Linked DNA regions of Homo sapiens: all the other regions are linked to region 2. Evidence: promoter capture Hi-C in 16 types of primary human blood cells and fetal thymus (Javierre and others, 2016). All regions are on one chromosome and are shown on one strand. The core of a region is centred on a gene start or on the middle of the fragment in contact, and the rest is flanking DNA. Distances in the headings are between cores, read along the strand shown.

Region 1 (3,222 bases), core at 274-2,773, 240 kb after region 2:
CCTGGGCAACAAGAGTGAAACTCTGTCTCAAAAAAAAAAAAAAAAAAAACAAGAACAAAAAAACAAAAAAAAAAAAGTCAGCCCTGCCCAAAGCTTAAATATGCTGTCATATCTTCAAAAAGATTAGAATATCTTACCTGAAAATCTCATACTATACTAAACTCAATTTCCTACTAATGAACTGTTTGACAAATACACTTTCATTTTTACTATGGGCCTCGTTGTTAATGAATATGACATTATAATATTAATCTGACATAATACTGACATCACAGTTTAACTGATTTGTATAATAAATGGTTTTTTCACATATAGAAAAAGAAATATATACATTCACTCCACAAGTGTTTACTGAATGCCTTCTACCTCAGGTATTTCCCTAAATGCTGGGTGTGCTTTAAAACAGATTTGATACTTGCTTTCATGGAGTTCACAATCTATGAGTGAGACAGACATTAATCAAGTAAACAGGTGATAATACAATTATAAATTGCGAACAGAACAAGGTGCTATAAAGTAGAATCACGGGGTAAGGGGTGTTCAGTCTATAAATTAGATGGTCAGAAATGGCCTCTCTGCTGAACATGACATTTTCATTTGATCGGATTAAGAAGTCAACCTTGTGAAAGTAGGGAACAAGTTTTCCAGCCAGAGCAAGCTGTTTCTTACTAATGCGACTGGCTTGTTTTATCAAAATGAATCATAATGTTTAATTGGTACTTCATCAGTACTCAATACGTATTTACTTATTGAATCTAATGATCAGATTCTGCATGCTATTCCACCTCTCTTATAAAAGGGCTTCGCGTACAATTAGGCACTTTAAGAAACAACAAAATATTTTGAAAGTAAGTTCCACGTATTTATTTGCCACTAACACACTGACTGTAAAAGATATGAAGCATATATACAAAAATTAACATAACCAAATATACATGCAATTAACCTTTTATATAGCTGTGTCTTTGTGGTTTCCATCTTTTCTCCCCCCACCTCTGAAAATGTTTACAATTTGTAATCTCCCTCTCAGTACTGCCTGTAATTATATGGAATGATACCCATCCAGAGGAAGGGGTTGTAAGGGGTCACAGAGGTTTGCATTAGAAGGAGTAAAGTTTGAAAACCTTCCCCAGACATTCAGTTATGCCCTATTCTAGGGCATATCCTTCCCCTCTTCATTTAGGAATTATTCTGGTCTTTTTAGATGTCATATTTCCATAAATCTGCAGACTATATTCATTCATCTCCACTAGCGAAAAGTTCCACATTTTATATTAATTTTTTTTTTTTTAGAGATAGGGTCTTGTTTTGTCACCCAGTCTGGAGTGCAGTGGTACAATCACAGCTCACTGTAACCTCAAACTCCTGGGGCCAGAAATGATCCTCCCACCTTAGCCTCCCAAGGAGTTGGGACTACAGGTGCACACTAACATGCCCAGCTAATTTTCTAACTTTTTATAGAGACAGGGTCTTCCTGTGTTGCCCAGGCTGGTCTCAAACTTCTCGCCTCGAGGGATCCTCCCACCTTGGACTCCCAAAGCACTGGGATTACAGGTGTGAGCCACCACACCCAGCTTACGTTAATTTCTTCAAATAACACATTTTTATAGGAAAAAATTATCGTGGGGTTTTATTGATATAGGAGTTAAGAAGAAATTAGGCAGATAGTGAGGGTACAGGAGTCCTTGGTAAGGTTTTCCTTTTAATTAAAAGCAGCCCTCAAATCATTTCTTTTCCTAACAAAGAGCAGACTGTAAAATGAAGTTGCAGACATAGGCAAGCAAGGTGGAAGCCTGCACATGCAAATGCCTGAAGTTGTGCCAATAGGAAAACACTACCTGGAACTGAGAGGTGACAGCGTGCTGGCAGTCCTCACAGCCCTCGCTCTCTCTCTGCGCCTCCTCGGCCTGGGCTCCCACTTTGGCGGCACTTGAGGAGCCCTTCAGCCCACCGCTGCACTGTGGGAGCCCCTTTCTGGGCTGGCCAAGGCCCGAGCCGGCTCCCTCAGCTTGCAGGGAGGTGTGGAGGGAGAGGCGCCAGCGGGAACCGGAGCTCCGCGCGGCGCTTGCGCGGGCCAGCTGGAGTTCCTGGTGGGCGTGGGCTTGGCGGGCCCCGCACTCGGAGCAGCCGGCGGGCCCTGCCGGCCCCAGGCAAGGAGGGGCTTAGCACCTGGGCCAGCAGATGCGGAGGGTGTACTGGGTCCCCCAGCAGTGCCAGCCCACCGGCGCTGCGCTCGATTTCTCACCGGGTCTTAGCTGCCTTCCCACGGGGCAGGGCTCGGGACCTGCAGCTTGCCATGCCTGAGCCTCCCACCCCCTCCATGGGCTCATGTGCGGCCCGAGCCTCCCCGACGAACGCCACACCCTGCTCCACGGCGCCCAGTCCCATCGACCACCCAAGGGCTGAGGAGTGCGGGCCCATGGTGCGGGACTGGCAGGCAGCTCCACCTGCAGCCCCCGTGCGGGATCCACTGGGTGAAGCCAGCTGGGCTCCTGAGTCTGGTGGGGACGTGGAGAACCTTTATGTCTAGCTCAGGGATTGTAAATACACCAATCAGCACCCTGTGTCTAGCTCAGGGTTTGTGAATACACGAATCGACACTCTCTATCTAGCTACTCTGGTGGGGCCTTGGAGAAACTTTGTCTAGCTCAGGGATTGTAAACACACCAATCGGCACTCTGTATCTAGCTCAAGGTTTGTAAACACACCAATCAGCACCCTGTGTCTAGCTCAGGGTTTGTGAATGCACCAATCCACACTCTGTATCTAGCTACTCTGGTGGGGCCTTGGAGAACCTTTGTGTCCACACTCTGTATCTAACTAATCTGGTGGGGAGGTGGAGAACCTTTGTGTCTAGCTCAGGGATTGTAAACGCACCAATCAGCGCCCTGTCAAAACAGACCACTCGGCAGTGGCAACCCGTTCGGGTCCCCTTCCACACTGTGGAAGCTTTGTTCTTTCGCTTTTTGCAATAAATCTTGCTACTGCTCACTCTTTGGGTCCACACTGCTTTTATGAGCTGTAACACTCACCGCGAAGGTCTGCAGCTTCACTCCTGAGCCAGCGAGACCACGAACCTACCAGAAGGAAGAAACTCAAGAACACATCCGAACATCAGAAGGAACAAACTCCAGACGCGCCACCTTAAGAGCTGTAACACTCACCGCGAGGGTCCGCAGCTTCATTCTTGAAGTCAGTGAGACCAAGAACCCACCAGTTCCG
Region 2 (3,458 bases), core at 829-3,328:
GTAAGTGAACAAAGGAGGAAAGGCTTGGACATGAGATGATATTCTTATAGTTGTCAATAGATTAACCTATATGTACAATCTTTTCTATTAGGTAGGAGGGAAAGCCATGTGGCCATCCACATCATTCATGAGCATAGGGTAGAAGAGTATACACCACCTAATAATGAAAAAGGCATACTAAGAAACAGAGTTTCCATAGTTGTCATTCAGTTTTCTTGGATGCTTTGACAAGAAACCTAAGAAAATTGAGCACTGCATATAATATGCCATTGAGCAACAGTATACTGAAAGAAACTCTATTTTACAGAATATAACCAAACACACACACACATGCACACACACACACACACACACACGCACAGTGAATATCATCATACCTGGTCTATGCCATCCTGATATGTTCACACTAGAGGTGAATTGTGTTACTGCTATGGAAGATGTGGAACTGTCAATCACTGTTCTAGCCTTGCCTTATTGTAATTTAGTACGTGACTCTGGGAAATCCACCTTATCTCTCAATTACAATTGCTTTTCTTTAAATGATAATGGGGATAAATGGTTAAATATCTGTAATTCTAAAAATCTCCATGTATATGGAGCCATGTAGAACTACAAACTCTATAGATTCCACACATTTAAAAAACATGTTTTTTTCATGGTTTGTCCAAACCATTTTATAAAATCATTCCCCATAGCTTTCACAACCTCTGACATGGCAAAACTACCTCTTTACAGGAAAACAATGACTGAGATAAAAACATCCTGATGCACCTCCACCGCCTGCCACCTCCACCATCACACACACACACACACACACACACACACACACACAGCTCTTTCCACAGGAGAAAGAAGTGAGGCATTTAAAAACAATCTTACAAAACTATTTTTAAAATATTTGTAAAATCTCTTTAAATTTCTCTAAATGAAAATCAGTGGTTTTTAAATATAGGATTTCTATATGTCTTTATTCCTGTTATTCTAATAATAATCAAGCAAGGATTTAAGGGAAATCACGAGAAGCAGCAGAGAGAAGCAAGGCTGTTGCATGCAACTTCCACCTCCTGAGTCATTCCACTCTTTAACACAGATAATGTCACATGACCTAAAATAATTTAAAATGTGAGCACCTTCTATAATATCAACTATTTAAAATGGCCACGGTTCTATTATCCCAAATCCAATAAAATACAGAAAAAATCAATTTTCATGGCAATTAATTTGTGTTCAGCATACTCCTCACATCCATACTGGGGGAGGAGGGAGGGTCTATAGTCTCATTCCAAGTCTATTAAACACATTACATAAATCTTGATTCATGTGGGAGAAATGACTTACGTATTATTTCTAAGAGGTAAAAATAAAGACATAAACAATCTGTACCATCATAGCCAGCAGAAATCGTTCAAAAGGCCTTTGGACTCAGAATATTGGCTTGCCTCTGAGGCTGCAATCAGAAGGCTCAGCCCTGAGCTTTGGCAGAGCCACTGCCATGTTAATCTGCTTCATTATATCTCTACAATTTGTTCACTGCATTAAGGAGCAGTATTTCCCTTGTGAAAGGAAAACCCATCCTTCACTTTGAAAGCTTTACCTTTAAAAGGTAAACAAATACAGCCAGAGACAGAGACCAACAGCTAGAAAGCCAAAGAAATAATAAAACACGGTATGTCATAGTCAGAGCTCATTTCAGCCTAGGAAGATTTTAAATTGCACAACAGCTAGAATTAGAGCTTTTGAATCTCTTAGATCTGAATACAAGCTAACAAAGCACACATCTTATATTAAATGTCATTCTTAACATAGATAACAATCCGTGGATAAGTCAAAAATAGAATCATGCTGGCTTACCTGAAATAAAGAAAAATGTAAATCATAACACAGAATCCACGTATGTGTTGAATATAACAGTCTCCAATGCAATTCTTCAGAATTTTTACTGGAGTAGAAAGTAAAATCTCACATGTGCTCTATCCTCATTAAAGAAGAAAAAAACAAGAAAGGATGACCACAGCATCCTCCCTCCTTTGCCTTAGCTTTCTGTTCTGACAGTCATTCGATGGTACCCAATGTCTGTTAGAAAACAGCATGCTAAATTAGAAAAATAAATAAATAAAGGCAGCATCTTACATGACAGCTCCATCTCCTGGTCAAAAGTGGAACCATCTTAATTCACGTTCCTTTGGCTATGTAGCAGTCAGCACATAAAATTAAATGATGTACAGCCCATAATTCCACTCTATTTGAAATCAACTACTTTAATTAACTGTAATTTAAACATTTAAGAAGAATTATAGTATGAATTTTTAGAATTATAATTCTATTTTGGGGATTCAAATTTCTTTACATTATGTTTAAACTAAATGGAAGCTTTTCCCATCATTGAAAACTTAAGATTTATTTAACTTTATATACCATCTGAAAAAGTAATATGTATCTCCTATAAAACAATTTTAGATGTCAAGCTTATTGATAATGAACATCACATCTCTTTGTGGAGAAGTATAAGTTTTTGTCACTAGAGAAGTTAACACATAACACTTGTGTTGCTATTGTTTGGAGGAATGTTGAAAGGTTAAAGATAAGGCAGGAAAATTAAATGACTTAAAGGCAAACTTGAAAAATCTTTAGTTAATCTAATCTAACTACAAAAATACAGACGACAAGTTACATGCAACATGAAATTTGATAATTGTAGTAGTATACTATAGTGTGTAGTTACATCTTCTTAGAGAGATAAGAGAAAATTAAATTGTCAAAAGAATCCATTTGGTAAATGACACCATTTATAGAATCAAAGTTTTACTGAGCATATGATGTTCTCAATATATGTTTGTTTAATTAATTATTCTTCTTATGAACAGTTGTGAAGGCCAGGATCATTTTTTTAAAATTTGAAGTAAAAGGATAGGCATTTTTTTTCTCCCACTTTTTTACAACACCATTTTAATTTGGGGCCAAATCGATCTTTAATTTCCTATTGCAGTAACGCTGTCCATGGTGCTGAGAACCAATTTTAGAACTCATGGTGAGTTCTAGGTCTTAAACGGGTCTGAAATACTGTCTTTGTCAGATTTGATATAAAATTTACCATTAAAAGTCCCCAGATCAGCCAGAATAATTGATAGTATCTAATATAAAAATAGTTAAGTAATTTTTTTATCCACAAAATATGTATATACACATGTCCATCAGAAGCCAAAATGCTGATAAATACATTTAATAAAATACATGATTGCAAGCTACACTTTCTTTGGATTCATAATATTTTATTTTCTGTGTGCTAAAGTTATACTGAATAGATTGCTTTAACATAAGGTTGTTCCCACACTATTAAATAGACGAGGAAACCAAAGCCCACTCTTCAGTAACTTATCCAGTATTAATAAGCAAGTCAGAAGAACAAACCCAGTTTCTTAAATTTTACCTTACTTCCATTTCTACAACATTATTAAGAT
Region 3 (3,152 bases), core at 638-3,137, 220 kb after region 2:
TCTTCCTAATAAACTCCCCTTATATATATATGAAATATATATGAATACACATATATATGTTAAAATATACATATATATTATATATATGTGATACACACACATACACAGGGAACACTGACTAATTCATCATTTTCCTAACAAAGATGGTTTGCCCTTCCCTAAGATCCCAGAGAATCATGTGCAACTTTTATTATTGCATGAGTAACATTGTATTAAAGGTACTCATTTATAAATCTGTTGTCCTTTTCAGAAAGTGTGTTCCTTTATGGACAGGGACTACATCTAACTTGTCATTTTTCTTAAAGTACTTTGCAAATGATGAGGTAGCAGTTATTTTTAGTTTTATCTGCTTAGTACTCCTTGCAGTCAATACCACTGCCATTCTTGTTCCACTGCTCTTCCCTTTTGAACATGTGAAACTGCCATTTCTTTCCTTTCTCTGCTTTCATGGCCACAGGATTTAGTATTTCAGTAGGTATGTGACTCAAGATTACCTTCTGGGTCCTTTTCTGTAATATAAATATTGGTAAATTAGAAGTCCTTCCTTTCTTTTTAACTAGGAAGATATGATCCAGGAAGCTGCTAGAAGTTCTGGGTACGGACACAGAGATAAAGATAGTTTAAGAGGATGAAGCATAATGAGAGAAGTACAAATGAGAGTGTAAGACAAAGTGTGCTGCTGGCTTTCCAGACCCTGGTTTGGGGTGTTCAGCTCTACCATGAACAATTCCTTTTTTGCTTAAGCTGGTTCAAGTTAGAATTCTATCACTATCAAAATGGGCTAACTAATAGAGATGGAAATCCACAAATGTAAGTTGAATGACAGAAGAAAGAACGAGAGAGAGAGAAAGAAAGAGAGAGAGAGAGAAAGAAAGAAAGGAGGGAGGGAGGGAGGGAGGGAGGGCAGGAAGGGAAGGAAGGAAGGTTAAAACTTAAGTGTGTCAGGAAATTCTTTCAACCTCATTAAACCCACTCAAGATCCAAAGTTTGTGGACTTCTTTTTTTTTTTTTTTTTTTTTGAGATGGAGTCTCCCTCTGTTGCCCAGGCTGGAGTGCAGTGGCGAGATCTCAGTTCACTACAAGCTCCGCCTCCCAGGTTCACGCCATTCTCCTGCCTGGGCCTCCCATGTAACTGGGACTACAGGCACCCGCCACCACACCTGGTTAATTTTTTTTTTTTTTTTTTTTTTTTTTTTTGGCGACAGAGTCTCGCTCTGTCGCCCAGGCTGGAGTGCAGTGGCATGATCTTGGCTCACTACGTGATCCTCCTGGGCTCAAGTGATATTTTCACCTCAGTCTCCCAAACTGCTGGGACTATAGGCGTGAGCCACTGCACCTGGCCTATTTTGGATATTTGTCCCCTCTAAATCTCATGTTGAAATGTAATCTCCAATGTTGGAGGTGAGGCCTAGTGGGAGGTGTTTCGATCCTGGGGGTGGAACCCTCATAAATGGTGTGGTGCCCTGCCCACATTAATGAGTGAGTTCTCCTCTATTACTTCACACAAGAGCTGGCCATTTAAAAGTGTGGCACTCCTCTTCTCTCTCTCTTGCTCCCTCTCTTGCCATGTGACATGCCTGCTCCACTTCGCCTTCCACCATGACTGGAAGCTTCCTGAGACCTTATCAGAAGCAGATGCTGGTGCCATGCTTCTTGTACAGTCTGAAGAACCATGAGCCAAAATAAAGCTCTTTGATTTATAAGTTACTCAGCCTCAGATATTCCTTTACAGCAACACAACATGGACTAATAGAAGTGGCAATCATGTGTCAGACCTTCTCCAGAATTAAATTTGAAAAAAAAAAAAAACACATTGTTATAAATTCAGGGATCTACTATGTAAATCATACAATAATAATTAGAACAGAATTTTTAAACTCCATAGTAAGGTATCTGTACATTTCTCAAGTTATTTATACATTCAAGACTTTCAGAATTAAAAAGAGACTGATACAACATGGCTATATGAATTTAGTCACTAGCTTCCAAAAATCTGTGACATTATTACAAGATGAGAAAATAAAAGTGAATTGCCAATTTTGCTGTCTAAATTGACCAACAATTTAAAAGGTTAAAAGATTAAATACACAAAGCTCTTAGTGTCTAAAGGACATTTTGCAGTTCTGAGAAAGATAATTATTCTATATTGGTTTTTGAAAGCTTAGAGTCTAGCAAATTATGTATAGGTTTTTCAGATATATACAAACAGTATGACCTATCTACACTTTGTTTAAAAAAAACTATATTCATTAAATATTGGCCCTTCTTACTGACCACTCATTATATTTTATCATTATGTAAAATGCAGTAAGAGCAATACGCTAGGTGCCGGACAGAGCTGCAGATCCAAAGTAATTTTTTAAATGGAAATTAATTCAGCAGTCTAGGGAAATACTATTACAAGCAATGCCCTGCTGAATCTCATTAAATCAATTTGGAAAGACATATAGTTGGAAAGGTAAAAATAAATCAATAAGATTAAAAAGGAAGTCTATGCTTTACAGAAAAGAGAGAGAAAGAGAGGAGTTATATTATCTGGTTGTTAAGTGACAGGATTTAAGTAGGACTGATTTGTCTCCCTTATAGGGAAAAGCAGTTTTCAGGACTAGAGCAAAATACTGTTTGCACATGGCCCAGTTTGTACAAACTGCATTTCCCTCGGCAAGACTTCACTCCATCTTTAAAAATGGAGATGAGCTTCCACCAGAGGAGCTATTGCCTAGCAACAAGATGCTAAGAAGGCGAAGGCGAGCTGAGTCCTCTCTATAAAGAGCTCCCTCTCCCTCTCTCTACCACACTGCAATGATTTCCAGTGCAGACTGATGCCCTTGAGGGAGTCACCTTAACGACCAGAAAGCTATAGGAAAAGAATTTTGCTAAGATCACGATAAAGTCTAAGCTTCTTTTGTTTTTCAGCAGACATTCGATGCTCACTCCTCTCTGTGCTTAGCCCTACACAAAGCATTTTCACAAACGTGTTTTTATTTCCTTTAAGCCCCTAGCTGTCACCAGTATTGAGTCATATGACTGACTAGCTGACTAGCTATAGACCTAAGATCTATCTGGTCTTACCTGAGATTGTCAAATGTTTGCTGAGAAGCACTGATGTCCATCATCTTTGCTATTGCCTCAAATGTTAAACTCCTACCCCT

The links. The method cuts DNA at HindIII sites, captures the fragments that hold promoters and counts their contacts. A CHiCAGO score of 5 or more calls a contact.
Region 1: a fragment that was not itself captured here is called in contact with the fragment with the promoter of SCN2A in region 2 in 1 of 17 cell types (erythroblasts); the score reaches 5.3 in erythroblasts.
Region 3: a contact is called between a fragment that was not itself captured here and the fragment with the promoter of SCN2A in region 2, in 3 of 17 cell types (fetal thymus, megakaryocytes and erythroblasts). The highest score is 7.2, in fetal thymus.

What each region holds. Positions count from the first base shown.
Region 1 is chr2:164,993,945-164,997,166 of GRCh38, reverse strand. No RefSeq gene overlaps it. Among named protein-coding and RNA genes, the nearest start is that of SLC38A11, 40 kb to the right of the region's middle. RefSeq lists an enhancer at 1,768-2,268. The HindIII fragment of the contact is 2,856 bases long and covers 96-2,951 here.
Region 2 is chr2:165,238,034-165,241,491 of GRCh38, reverse strand. It overlaps SCN2A (sodium voltage-gated channel alpha subunit 2), which reads right to left and starts at 2,078. Exons shown (of 27, transcript NM_001040142.2): 1 at 1,852-2,078. The HindIII fragment of the contact is 782 bases long and covers 1,591-2,372 here.
Region 3 is chr2:165,018,014-165,021,165 of GRCh38, reverse strand. No RefSeq gene overlaps it. Among named protein-coding and RNA genes, the nearest start is that of SLC38A11, 64 kb to the right of the region's middle. The HindIII fragment of the contact is 550 bases long and covers 1,613-2,162 here.